Regions from separate parts of the Homo sapiens genome. Here region 1 is linked to region 2. The links are contacts of gene promoters, found by promoter capture Hi-C in human tissues and cell types (Jung and others, 2019). All regions are on one chromosome and are shown on one strand. The core of a region is centred on a gene start or on the middle of the fragment in contact, and the rest is flanking DNA. Distances in the headings are between cores, read along the strand shown.

What was found. Contacts are between HindIII fragments. The study calls those that stand out against the background at their distance.
Region 1: a fragment that was not itself captured here is called in contact with the fragment with the promoter of FBXL4 in region 2 in 1 of the 25 tissues and cell types used here (dorsolateral prefrontal cortex).

Annotation. Positions count from the first base shown.
Region 1 is chr6:97,661,904-97,669,280 of GRCh38, forward strand. The region is part of intron 3 of LOC101927314 (a long non-coding RNA gene); the gene reads left to right. Among named protein-coding and RNA genes, the nearest start is that of MIR2113, 360 kb to the right of the region's middle. RefSeq lists an enhancer at 6,306-7,164. The HindIII fragment of the contact is 4,876 bases long and covers 2,438-7,313 here.
Region 2 is chr6:98,944,280-98,950,757 of GRCh38, forward strand. FBXL4 (F-box and leucine rich repeat protein 4) reads right to left here and starts at 3,667. Exons shown (of 10, transcript NM_001278716.2): 1 at 3,527-3,667. RefSeq lists enhancers at 2,557-2,746, 3,550-4,061 and silencers at 3,187-3,496, 3,794-4,088. The HindIII fragment of the contact is 15,139 bases long and covers 1-6,478 here.

The DNA.
Region 1 (7,377 bases), core at 3,626-6,125, 1.3 Mb before region 2:
GTAATCAAACTCAAGTCTTTTCATATTGCTTCTTTGATCTGCCTGCATATAATCCATCACTGACTTGCTATTCCCAAAGTCTAAATTCGTTAAGGTTTCCCAGGCCTTCTGAGATCTGTTCCCCATTCTTTGTAAGCTTCATCTTTTCCCTTCTCTCTCACACATTCTAGGGTAAAAATATACTGAACAATTTATTTTTCTGTTCCTCAGGTACACTCCCCTATTTTTTATCCACTTGCTTGTCATACATGGAATTATCTCTGCCAAGAACACCCTTCCTTCCTTTTTGTCTTGATCTACCTTTAGATCCCATTTCAGTTGTGCTATTCCTTTCCTCTGAAAGTTTTCCTGGTATCCCCATCCGCCCAGACTAGATTAGACATTTTAAGTGTGTGCTCCTGTGTCTACTTATATTTTCTCATTGTAACACTTGGAGACATTTTACTATAACTTTCTCATTGTCTGCATTTTAAGGTACTGCAACTCAGGCAGCACAATTTCTGAAGTCTCGGGTGCTAAACTAAAATTTTCCCAGAGACCAAAAATAATGTGAAATCCAATATAATTAAGACTGCGTAACAGTTCTCTGAATTGGCCACATTATGCAATTCATGTATTTATTCATAAAAATATTTATTTAGGATACTATAGAAGTGGTTAAGAGGGCAGACTCTGAGGCTAAGCTAGATTGCTTGGGTTCAAATCTCAGCCCTACATGCATGATTTACGATCAAGTTGATTAAGTTCCTTATTCAGAAATTAGGAATCAAAATAGTACTTACTTTATAGGATTATTGTATTAAATTATGTATTACATATAAAGTGCTTAGGACACTACCTGGATAATAGTAAGCACTGTGCAAGTGCTGAGCACGGCTAGTTCAAAGGTTTTTAGGGGCCAACACTAATACTACCTGCCATCATAGAACTTACAGATAGTGTAGGAGAAACACATTAAAAAAAAAAGATTTCTTACCTCTCTCTCTGGGAAGCTCTAACATGCTCTTTATTCTTACCATACCCACAGCTTGTGATATCTGGGGTCTTTCCCGTACATTTAAAGTAGAATTGTATCATTTCACTTAGAAATATTTTCAGACACAGAACCATTTTAACTCCAGAGTTCTGGGAAATCCTTAGCTTTTCACAAATTTGCCTCATAGCTAATTCATAAATTCTCTAAAGGAGGAGGATCCACTTTAAGGAAATTCTTTCCACTTGGTCTTTCCTTTGGAAGTAACAATCTACCATGATTTTCTCTGTGGCATTCTTCAGCCCAGAGCTCCCAGCAGTTTATGCTGTACCTGTGTGCAAATTAAAATAAAATGTTTTATCTCTCTCTCTCTCTAGCTGGAAGAATATAAAAGGTTACCCCTCTGTGCAAGAGCACCATCCTAGGCATACAAACTCAGGAAAATATCAAGAAAAAAGTGTGACCCCATGGGGGCACACTGGCAGCTTCAGGGAGCACATCTCTGTGAGAAGATGTGGGCTGGCCTTCACTGCTACTGTGCCCTCTTAACAGAATGCTCTTATGCAGAGCACAAAATGCCCACTGTATCCAGCCAGCTGTGCTTCACACAGTGGACCTGTTTGCTTCCTAGGCTTCCTGTGACCTACACTTCTCCTTGCCTGTCCAGGATCAACTCCAGAAGTAGCTTGCTATGCTTTAGGTATTTTCTCAGGTCCCTCTAATGCCTTTCTATGTGTCATATTTTCAGAGCTCTGCCCTTTGCTTTCCAAGGTGACAGCCTTGGTCCATTCTATCTAGCAGAGCAGGAGGCTCCAGAACATTTTACATTAGTCCAAGGAGGTAAGTAACTACAATGTTAGACATTTAAGACAGGCTTTCTAGTGATTCTTATTGCTGATGCTATGCAGGATAAAGTTAATTTTTCAAAGTCTCAACTGAAGTATCCAGAATTCTCCAGATCTTGAGCCTCCCATGCTGGGTAAAGGAAGATGAACTTGGTACATCAGCATTGATGTGTAAACACCTAAAGGCAATAGGGAGTAGAATCAAGAAATATATTCTGTGTGTAGACTGTGTTTGACTTGGAAAATAACAGTAAAACAGTACTTTTAAGTATATTTATGTATAATTTATAATATAAGGTATTTTCATATGCTTTATCTTCTTTAAGTGTTCAAATTAATGCTGTGAGGCAAATCAGGCAGTATATAATGCACAGGTTTTATGTTTTTTTAAATAAAACATGTGGATTGGCCCATCAAATAGAAAAACTATGAGATTTAACTTGTCACCAAACATTGAAGGGAGGAAGAAATTAATTCTAGGAGAATTTTAAATTGTAATAATTATTTATTTTTATTCACCAGAACTTACTTTCTAAAAATTTAAATAAATGTCCCAAAGGCAAGACAATTTATATTTGGGCACCCCAACAAAACACATCCATTTAAAGCAAAAAAAAAAAAAAATCAAGTTGTGATAATATTTCACTTTAGAGCAGTAATATTGGCCCTGTCTTGTCTAGTTATGAATCAGAGCTAATGAGGGATATGAACACAGAACTAACACTGTAAATCAAACTTTAAAAAGCTGCTTTGTCATCTTGTTGACAGCAGTTATTAATGATTCGAGGGCCTCTATTTTAGTAAAAAATAGGGTCTGTCTTTCTGGCTTTAAATGAACATTAGCACCTTACAAGAGGTTGGACATGACTCTTACCACAATAGGTAATTGCAGCTAACAGCTGCATTTGAGTTTTCATTGTGCACTCTTTTTGAGAAGATTTCCTAGTGATAGTTCAGTTCATGCAGAAAGTTAGCAAGCATTTTCAACCTGAGAGCTATTTATATAAATTTTAAAACAATATACACGAGAATAGTTTAGTAGCTCTTAAGTTTTAGGCACACATAAAAATAGAAATTAGGTGTCTTAAGGACATTTCTGTAATGCACTCATCTCCATTTTTTAAAGTAATTTATTATAAACGTCTTTCTTCTGCTTTTCCTTTTTGTTTTTAAAGGTGAAAGCAGTAGCGAAATAATTGACAGGTGCTACTGAGAATCTCCAGAAAATATATCTTGATCTGGATTATTGTGGAATCTTAAAACAAAATTTTCTAACATAATTGTAAACCATATTGTATTTTTGAGTGCAAAGGGCTAAGCACAGAAAGTGATCATAAACATTGCCTAGGTTATTCAATGTTCCAGGATTCTGAGGGTTGTGAGAAATGTTCAGAATGTTATCTCAGCTTTTGCATTTCTTTATAAAATGTAAGAAAACCATCCCCAAATGTTGGTGGTTGAGACTTCCATACAATTCTAAAAATCTTTGGAAATTGTTTTTTGTCTAACTAGTAATGCATATATTCCTCACCATGTTGTTGCCAGAATCATAAATTCTTTTATCTAGAAGCAAATGATTTTTATTTTTAGAAAAAAAGTATAAATTATGGACAAATTGAGTAAGAATGTCCTACTATTCGTATAGAGTTATATTTATACTAATCTTTCCCTTATAGCTTTTGCCCTTGTGTAAGTCATTTATCTAAAGAATCTCCTGAGCTTGCTTGCAATGTTGGTTAAGAAGTATTGACCATGAAGAATCTGAGTTCTAAACTCTGAGATGAGTTACACTTGTCTCAGAGTCAGAGACCCAGACAGAAAGGTGACTGTTGAGAGGCGGGCCAGGCATTTTCTTCCTCCTCACCGCCTCTTAACCTCATGTCCTCAAGGAGGAGTTCTGAGACCGCCGATAATCATCATAGCTCATGGGTCCAAGCCTTCCTACTGCAAGGAATTCTCATTATTTCAAGGGCTTTTTAATCAGTAAACAGTAGAAGACAATTACTGTATAGATCGGTTTAATTAGTTTATTTGATGCCCAGAGCATGTAAGTTTGCAACCAGGTTGTTTCTGCTAGCTATAGAATCATAAATTAATGGCAATGTTCTGGGCTGAAAAGATGATGCTCTGTGAGTGCTAACATGCTGGTACAGTCCTAATGGATTAGGAAGAGGATTGGTATACATGGAGCCTTTTACTAAAACAGGCCTCTCATGTCTTCATATCATCAACCATAATTTATTTTTTACCATCTCTTACTAGCATATTTCTAGTTTTCCATTAAATGACCTGAGGATACTGAGATATAGAGCTACCAAAAATCTGTATATTTAATATATTGAATCAAAATTTATTTATTCTCTATATTGTTTCTATCTTCTGTAGAACAATCTATATCAAATTATATATGTATAAAATTATGTATATAAAATAATTTCTGAGGATATAAGGACCTTGTATTTGAAAAGATGTTTTAATATTTTCTAGTAGGCATATTTTAGTGGCTCTAAATTATGTTTTCAAATTGTTGATTCAGTGCAACATCTCACTTTTTTAATCATTGTCATTTTTTTACTTGCTCCCCCAATCATGAAGCAAAGAAAACATGCATTTTCTCCTTCAGAAAATGCTACCCTTCCACAAATGCAAATTAGTTTGAGATAAAACAAACAAAAAAGAAACAGAAAGAAACAAAGAAAGAAAATCTTTAAAGCCTTTGACTGGTTACTTGAGCATTGTTCAGTAAGTAGACATAGTCACTATTCCCACCATGATTTTTAGAAGTTGTGACAAGAGCCATCCACATTCTTTTGTACATGACCAGTGGCACATTTGTGAGATGACCAGCGGCGGTTGGGGCTGTGTCTAGGAGCAGTTTTCTTTTTGTGAAGTTAATGGGCACATATGGGGATTGAACAAGCTTTACCATTCTTTCAGCTCCTCCTTCTTCCCTGGTCATGGATTTGAAAAATTGCCATTGAGACTGCAGTCAATGATCTTCTCCTTTCTGTTTTATGTAATTAATTGCCATTAATAGAAGATACCAGTCATGAGATAAATTTGGTTGAAGATGAGGTTAGACAATGAGACCTTGACTGATAATTTAAAATTTTAATTTTCTTTTCTTTTTTTTTTTTAAATTTGCTCCTTACCCCCTACATCATCTCCTACATCTTCCTAACTATCCTATGTGGTGTCCTCACTGATCTGATTGATGTTGGCCAGTATGAAAATAGTTTTTGTGGGACTATAGCCTGTTTACAATAAAAAGTAACACAATTAACTTAATTCTATAGCTTCTGAAACTGAGGTAAAAGTCATACTGAAATTCTGAATGCTTCATGGTAAACATACCTGAAAAGCCTGCTTCTACTGGATCTTCTCTTTCTTTTTGACTCTTAGTTTCAATGAAAAATGAAGAGCTTCTACTTATTGTAGAAGTCTTGATAATTTAGAACAATAAATAACAGTATGGAAGCAATTGACAGACAATTGTTTTCACAATGCTAACCAGGGTTTCCAAGTTGAACTATTTAACCCCAAATTTAAACAAAGCAGGCGTCTTTGTTTTAAGTGATAACACCTGTGCACAACCTGATGCCTGGTTGGACTAATAATTAGAAATAATATAGCAATTATTTATTGAATGCTTACCATGTGCTATTCATTGTACCCCAAATTTTAGTGTGTTATCTCATTAATTCTCATAGCAACACTATAAGGTAGATTTTTTTCCCCATTATAGATTAGAGAACCAAGTTTAGAATAGTTAATGTCAGGGTTAACTTACCTAAGGCCATGCAGTTAGTAACTAGAAGACTAAGTCTTTCTGACCCCAAAATCCCTTTGCCCATGTGCTTTTTTTGCTTGACTTCTTTGTTCCTTAGATAATCTTATTTTATTTATTTTTAAATAATAATAATATGGACTCAGTAAGATTATGTAGGGCACTGTATAGGTAGGAAACTGTTTAAACACGTATTTATATATAAAATGATAGAGCTGAATTTGATTATCCTCACACATCTATTAGTCTATAAATTGATGTCAAGAAATAGAGAATTTCAGCCAAGCAGGAATTTCTCTGAGAGAGGTTTGGTAATATTCATGGAGTCTAAAAAAAGGGGGAAAGAAACCAGGTTGGCAAACAAACAATAAAGGGACTAAAAAGGGGTGCCTTTTCTATGTAAAATCAAGAAATTAGAAAACTTCCTATTTTAACACATTATTAAAAATCACTTATTTTCTCATGATTTTCATTATAACAAAAAATCAAATCCAGAATCCTTTAGCAGGCATTCAGGATGCAGGGCCTCCTGATGCCAGAGTTAATAGCTTGTGATGAGAAACTGGCTGCCATGATCATATGTGGTTTGTGGGATCAGAAGTATGTTTGGTGTACTCATTTTCTAAATTAAATCTGTCCGGTCTGGATATCAGAAAGTAGGTTATCATTGATAATTCATTATCATACGTCTCAAATGATATTCCATGGAAGCCTTGGCCTTTTAAGATAGATAACAAAATAGTAGTAAATATTATCATTAGGTAAAAAAGGGGACGGCTCTGTGCCTTGGATATCTGTAGTAGGACCATTATCATTGTAGGAATGTGTTGAGAGAAGCTATTGGCATGCTAAAAATACACTACTTTAATAATAATCCATGCATAAAGGACCAAGAGAGAAGATATGGCAGAGAACTAATGAATTCTGGATCTTTTCCATATTTACCATTTCCACCAAAAAAATTAAATGCCGAATATTAAATTATAATGTTTAAACATAAAAAGTGAAATCTGTAATGTTAAAATGAACTTGAATCATGTAAATGTTAAATTTTTATTTAAAATGCGTCTCATTTTATTTATATTCAAAACAGATGCATGATTTTAAATACAGGGCGGTTGTAATATTCTAAGCACATATTTTAGGGACTTCCTCCCTTTTCCAAATCTCACTCAAGTGGAACATACACTCATTTCTGTAACAAAAATTCTTTCTACTCTATTGGCAAAATGAATAGCATCAACTCAAAATATTTAAAAATTTAGTCACATCCACATCCTGCAGCCTATAAGGAGCTTTCACGCTTTTGGGCTCGCTTTAGATCTTTAATACCCTTTCCTTTTGTGTCAAGGAGCTCACGAGGCGTAAAGAAGCACTGATAAACCCACTTAGATCCCTTCCTGGGCCGTCACCTCTCGCTGCCAAGCGGCTTTAGGTGGTAACTGATCTGTGACAGGCTGCCAGTCAAACAGAGCATTTCTGAAAGCTGACACAAAAGACTGAACGCTGGAGAATGGATAGGAAAAATAAGAAAAGGACCCAAACTGTATCAGTGCCCCCCACTCATCTCGGTCTGTTCCTCTTCGCTACCGCCCCCACCCTCTGGCCCACCCCTACCCTCCCTAACCTTTTTTGGTTGGTTTTTCTCTCTTTTCTTTTCTCATCCTCTTCCCTCCCAACCGCCCGCCTCCTCCCTCCCCCAGTTCCCTTTCCCAGAGCACAGCCTTTCCCCCCTGCTCTCTCTGGCTGGCTCCTTCTTAGTCAGGTTCATG
Region 2 (6,478 bases), core at 2,417-4,916:
AAAGAATAGACTATGAGAAAATACTAGCAAATGGTGAACCAAATCATTAATAGCCACAATATGTAAAGAGCTATTACAAATCAATTAGAAAAGAGGAACATTTCAACAGAAACCTAAGCAAGGGATATGATCATGCAAGTAAAAACGAATACAAATGACCAACAAACATACAGATAGTCAACCTCATCAATAAGCAAAGAAATGCAATACTAAAACAATAAAATAGCATTTTTCATCCATAAAATTACTAAATATAAAAAATAATCATTTCATCTTAGCAGGCCTCTCAAGTTTCTGCATATCATATAAGTAGAGGCACTGACGGCCTTTATTTTTTATCTTTTCAGTGGTGTTTATATAGCAAATAGCCTTGGCAGATAAAGAGATGTCTCCCTCTGGTACAGAGGGCAGGTTTGTTTACCATGTGGGAAAATAAAGATAATGTCTCCCTCTCTGGCAAAGATCAGACAGCTTTATTTGCAGCCCACTATGAAAGATTCAGGTTCCCTAAACTAAGGACTCCTCTCCTGTAACATAACCTACTTCATCTGCTAGTGTCACTGGGCTCTTATCACATCACCCTGTGGAAATCAGGGTTCCAGCAAATCAGCATAAGATGATCCTCTGGCTACCGTTCCTGTTGTGCTTTGTCTCTGAGTCAGGAGTCTCATATTTTCTGCCAGTTTCCATGAAACTGTTAGCTTGCAAGTAGGGTATGATCTCAGATCCTTGACAATTCTTGGCAATGTGATATGGCAAAAGCAATATTTTAACAAATTGTATAAATTTACTCTTACCAACAACTTTTGAGGAGCACTTTGGCAGAATCTCTCATAATTTAACACTTATGTGTAGCCTCTGACCTAGCAATTCCATATCTTAGGAAATGAACTAACATGCAAACATGACAGTATACAGAATAAACACAAAAATGATCCTTGCAGTTCTGTTTGTAATAAATTTGGAATAATGCCAACAGGGGACTGGCTAAATAACTTTTGGGTTATTCCTACAATGAAATACCAAAAGACTTACAAAAAAGACAAGATACTATTATATGCACTGACACAGAAGGATGTTTATCAATTATTATTAAGTGGAAGCTATAGAAAATTATAGATGGTACACTGCCATTTATGAAACAAAAGTAGACTTAAATATATTTATTTTTAAAATCTGCAAGCAGTGATCATCTTTATGGAACAAGGTTACTGGGTAGGTGGGCACACAGCACTTTCACTTCCTCCTTTAAGGATTTCTGTATTGCTTGATCTTTTTTAAAGAATGCATACATTTATTTCATGGGCTAATAAAGTTTTAAGTGTCCAGTGTAAAATTTATTATATTTTAGATATCCAGTTGTGATGGTAAAATACAAATGGATATGAGGATATCTTCCTCATATCCCAGGGAACACTTCTACAGCCATTTATCTCTTAGATAACCATTTTTCTCTTAGAAACCAGGTACAGAACATCCTAAATCACAGGTGATGGGGAGAGACACACTACAGTTACTATGACACGGTGCAAAGTCAAAAGGCATGCAGATTTTTAATCAGGCTGCTTCTCTATGTAACTGTAAGGAGCAACTCTAGTCGCAAGTTCTGAATGAGCAACAGAAGGGATTTATTTACTAACAGTTAATGATTCAACTGACCATGGAAAAAGCAAGCTAAAATAAATGAATCTCAATAACTGGCAGGAAAATTTTAAAGGGGGGAGGGAGGCAAGAGGTAAAGAAAGGGAATCAACTTGCCCCCACTAAATGTGTTCATTTCAAAAATATTTAGTGATGTCTACAATATGCCAGGCATCGTTCAAATCCCTAGATATTAAAACACATTATAAACCTAGAGCAATAAGAGCATCACAGAAGCCAGGATCACCACAGGGAGCCAAAGAATACTAGACCGTTCAGAAAGTCCCAAGAATACACGGGAATTTAGGGCCTATGGTATTTATAGGACTGATCAGCAGGGAAAAATAGAATTCCAACAAATGATGATGGAGTCACTAACAAAATTATAAAGTTAGAGCCTTCTTATCTCACATTAAATATAAATAAGATCATTAACAATACTAGAAGAAAACGGAGGTGGATATTTATATACAATTCATGTAGATAAAGGCCTTTTTTAAAGGACACTGTGTTAGATCCGCGAAGTTAAGATCGAGAATGTTAACCGCAGCAACATTAAGAGGATGAGACTAACACAGTAAAGAAAGAAGGGGCAGTTTTTGTTAACTGACCATATGTGCAAGTACCATATGTACCATTGTACAGAGTACTATAATCGCATTATTTCATCACGGCGTGAGTAAAGAAATTATCCATCTTACAATGAGTTGACTTATCTGATTTTCAAATAACAGAAGGGAAGAGTTTGAAAATGCAGAGTTCAGAAAAGCCAACTTTTGGCGCAGAAGTTTAAAACAAAGTTAGTACTCAGAACATAAGTATGGAAAGAAGAATCCAATTCAAGGAACTTTTAGAGTGCCTACTAAAGCATAATGCACATTTCCCTCAAGTCCTTAATCTGATAAAGGACTATTGGAGCGCTGATGACTCTGGATGAATCTCTCTCTACTCAACCAACAGATACAATATGCGGTACAGGATAATGGAGGCAGGAAGTGAGCCTGAAAGAAAAAAATATATACCTATAGCTGAACTTAAGAAACCAAGGAGTGCACGCAAGAACCAGAAAAGGCAGCTTGTGTCTGTGAACAGACCAAAGCAAGCAGAGATCCCTGCACCTGGTGGTAATGTGCCCTCCGGAGCACAAAGCCAGACGGGCATCCTGCCAACGCAACTACCTGACCACAGGCTTATACCATCTTCACCTTCTATAATAGTTATTTGTATACTGTATTTCAATCTGTGAATGCATCTCGAAGGTTTGTGGCAATGATTACTGGGAAATCAAGGAAATCCAAAACCACCCGTTATAAATATGTCGACAAGGAGGCCAAGTAGATGGTCATCATCACACTCTAGGGGCACCCCTAAACCTAAACACAGAAACAAGGTTGTAGCTGGGCACCCTGTAGCAGTCCTGAAGAAAGAAAACAGGCCTGGTTAGGCAAAAACCATCGGATGTCAGAGGGAAATCAAGGCAGCAGGCACAGGAATCACAAGCACAGGCGGGCATGTGGCCGACGCGTGGCTGCCGGCGCAGCACTGAGCGCGGGTGTGGGGCGACCCGCAGTCCCCCGCGGTGTAAACAACCCTGAGCCGCGCACACGTCCGAACGACGCCTCACAGCCTGCAGGCAGACTGTAGCGTAGAAAGAGCCCGAGGCACGTCAGCAGTTCTCAAGGGCCCCAGCAAGCCCCGCAAGCGTGAAGCGGAGGCGCGGGGGCGCGGGGCCGCGGGCGGGGAGGGGCGGGCAGCGGGGGCCTCTGCCAGGCGTCCAGACTCCCCAAAGCGCGGAGCTGCGCGCTGGCTCGGCCCCGGCCCCGCCCCGGCGCCAAAGGAAGAAGACAGAGACCCACGGGAGGGAGAAGTAAAGGAAGGGCCGTACCCTGCAGGGTCCGGGAGAGGCGCGCGCCGCGGGCTTCACCAGCGACCAGGCAGCGCGAGAAGGCCTGGGTGCGGGGGCGGCTCCCCGACTCTCTAGATGCGGCACAACCGCCGCAAGCCCGGCCTAGCGCGACCCGGAAGGAAGACGCGGAGGCCGCGAGGAGCGGCGGGCCCGGGGAGGCGGGGCGGAGCCGGGGAGGAGGGGCGGGGCCGCGGGGTTGGGGCGGGGCCGGGGAGGCGGGGCGGGGCCTGGAGGGAGGCGGGGCGGGGCCAGAAGCAAAGCCGGGCGTTTCTCCCATGGGAGGTGCTCTGGGTCCTACGGACAGCCCGCTCCCAGGCCAGGGGGAGGAGCTTTCTGCTGGCTTCCTAGCTCCAGTGGTGCCCGTGTAAAGGGCCTAGGTCATACACAGCGGGTAGTGTCTACAAATCCTCTTCGGAATAATCCCTTCCGAGTACCGGCTCGCCATGTGTAGTGTGGTCCTACAAGGACTTCTTCAGTCCAGACTTGGTGGATCAGATGATACATAGGTAATACGGCTGGTACGCATACGTAGAGGAAAAGTATAATATACATTATATGCACTCTGAAGGTATAATTCACCTAGTTTACAAACCTCCTCTTCCCTGCATACAAATCCTGCCTGCAGGCTCATTTCCATACCAACGTTCAGAAGCCTCTGACCATTACCTCTGATGAAGAAGATGGTCTGGCAGCCTCTCTTACTCATTTTGATTTATTTTTGGTAGATTCAGTATGGCACTTTATTTATTTATTTATGTATTTTTTGAGACGGAGTCTCGCTCTGTCGCCAGGCTGGAGTGCAGTGGCGCGATCTCGGCTCACTGCAACCTCCACCTCCCAGGTTCAAGCGATTCTCCTGCCTCAGCCTCCCGAGTAGCTGGGACTACAAGGGCGCCAAGCTAATATTTTGTATTTTTAGTAGAGACGGGGTTTCACCATATTGGCTAGGATGGTCTTGATCTCCTGACCTTGTGATCCACCTGCCTCAGCCTCCTAAAGTGCTGGGATTACAGCCGTGAGCCACCGCGCCCGCCCTTGGCACTTTTTTTAGTTTGCATCATATTTATCTTGTTACAAAATATCCACTAAGATGGAAAATATTTAATAAAATGTTGAACTACACATTATTTGCTGTCTGAATGCTCCAATGAGGCAAACCAGTAAGGATATTTACTTATATATGAACAGAATCAATATATGATATGCAATATACATTGTATACAAAAAAATTAAAATTTTTATTTTCTTCAACTTTTTGATGCATAATAGCTGTACATATTTTCAGGGTATATGTGATAATTTGATTCATTTCTGTAATCAAATCAGCATAACTGGGTTACTCATCCCCTTAAATATTTATCTTTTCTTTGTGCTAGGAACATTCAAATTGTTCTCTTCTGGCTATTTTGACATGTACTATTGATAAATGTTAGCTGTAGTCACCCTACTGATCTATGGAACACCGGGTCTTATTTCTTCTAAGTGTATGTTTCTTCTAAGTGTATGTTTACCTCCCCTTGCTCCCCCATGGCCCACCCCCCCAATACTTCTCAGTCTCTGAGATCCACTTTCTGAACTCCCACATATGAGTGAGAACATGCATTATTTGCCTTTCTGTGCTTGGCTTATTTCACTCATCATAATGACCTCCAGTTCTATCCATGTTTGTTGCAAATAAAAGGATTTTGTGGAGGGTTTTATGGCTGAATAATATTCTATTGTGTATATGTACCCCATTTTCTTTATCCATTCATCTGTTGCGCGGACACTTAGGTCAATTCTAAATCTTGGCTATTGTAAATAGTGCTGCAATAAACATAGAAGTGCAGATATCTCTTTGATATATGTATTTCCTTTCTGTTGGATCTATACCCAATAGTAGAATTGCTGAATCATATAGTAGTTCTATTTTTAGTTTTTTGAAGAATCTTCAAACAGTTTTTCACAGTGGCTCTAGTAATATTCATTCCTGCCAACAGTGCACACGGGTTCCCCTTTCTCCACATTCTCACCAGTATCTTTTGTTCCTGGCTTTTTTTTTTTTTTTTTTTTTTTGATAAAAGCCATTCTCACTGGGGTGAGATATCTCATTGTTTTGATTTGCATTTATCTGATGATTAGTGATAAGGAGCATTTTTTCATATACCAGTTGGCCATTTGTATGTCTTCTTTTGAGAAATGCCTGTTCAGATCTTCTGCCCATTTTTTAATTGGATTATTTGTTTTTGTTTTTGTTTTTGTTTTTGCTTTCCTATTGAGTTGTTTGAGCTCCTTATATAAAATATTCTGGTTATTAATCCCTTGTTAAATAAATAGTTTGCAAATATTTTCTCCCATTCTGTGGGTTGTCTCTTCACTTGATTGTTTCCTTTGCTATGCAGAAGCTTTTAAGCTTGATGTTATCCCATTTGTCTATTTTCACTTTTGTTGCCTATGTGTTTCAGATCTTAACCAAAAAGATAAGATCTTGCCCAGACTTATGTCATGGAGACTTTTCCCTATGCTTTCTTCTAGAAGTTTCATAGTTTTGGGTCTTAAATTTAAGCCTTTAATCCATTTTGACTTGACTTTTCTATATGGTGAGAGATAAGGTTCTAATTTCATTTTTCTGCGTGTGGACATTAGTTTTTGCCAACACTGTTGAACAGACTGTCCTTTCTCCATTGTGTGTTCTTGGCACCTTTTGTAAAAAAAGCAATTGACCATAGATGTGTGGCTTTATTTCTGGCCTCTATATTCTGTTCCATTAGTTAATGTGTCTGTTTTTATGCCACTACCATGCTGTTTCGATTGCTATAGCTTTGTAATATATTTTGAAGTGACGTATTGTGATGACTTCAGCTTTATTCTTTTTGCTCAACATTGTTTTCTCTATCCAGGATTTTCTGTGGTTCCATACAAATTTTAGGATTTTTTTTTCTATTTCTGGGA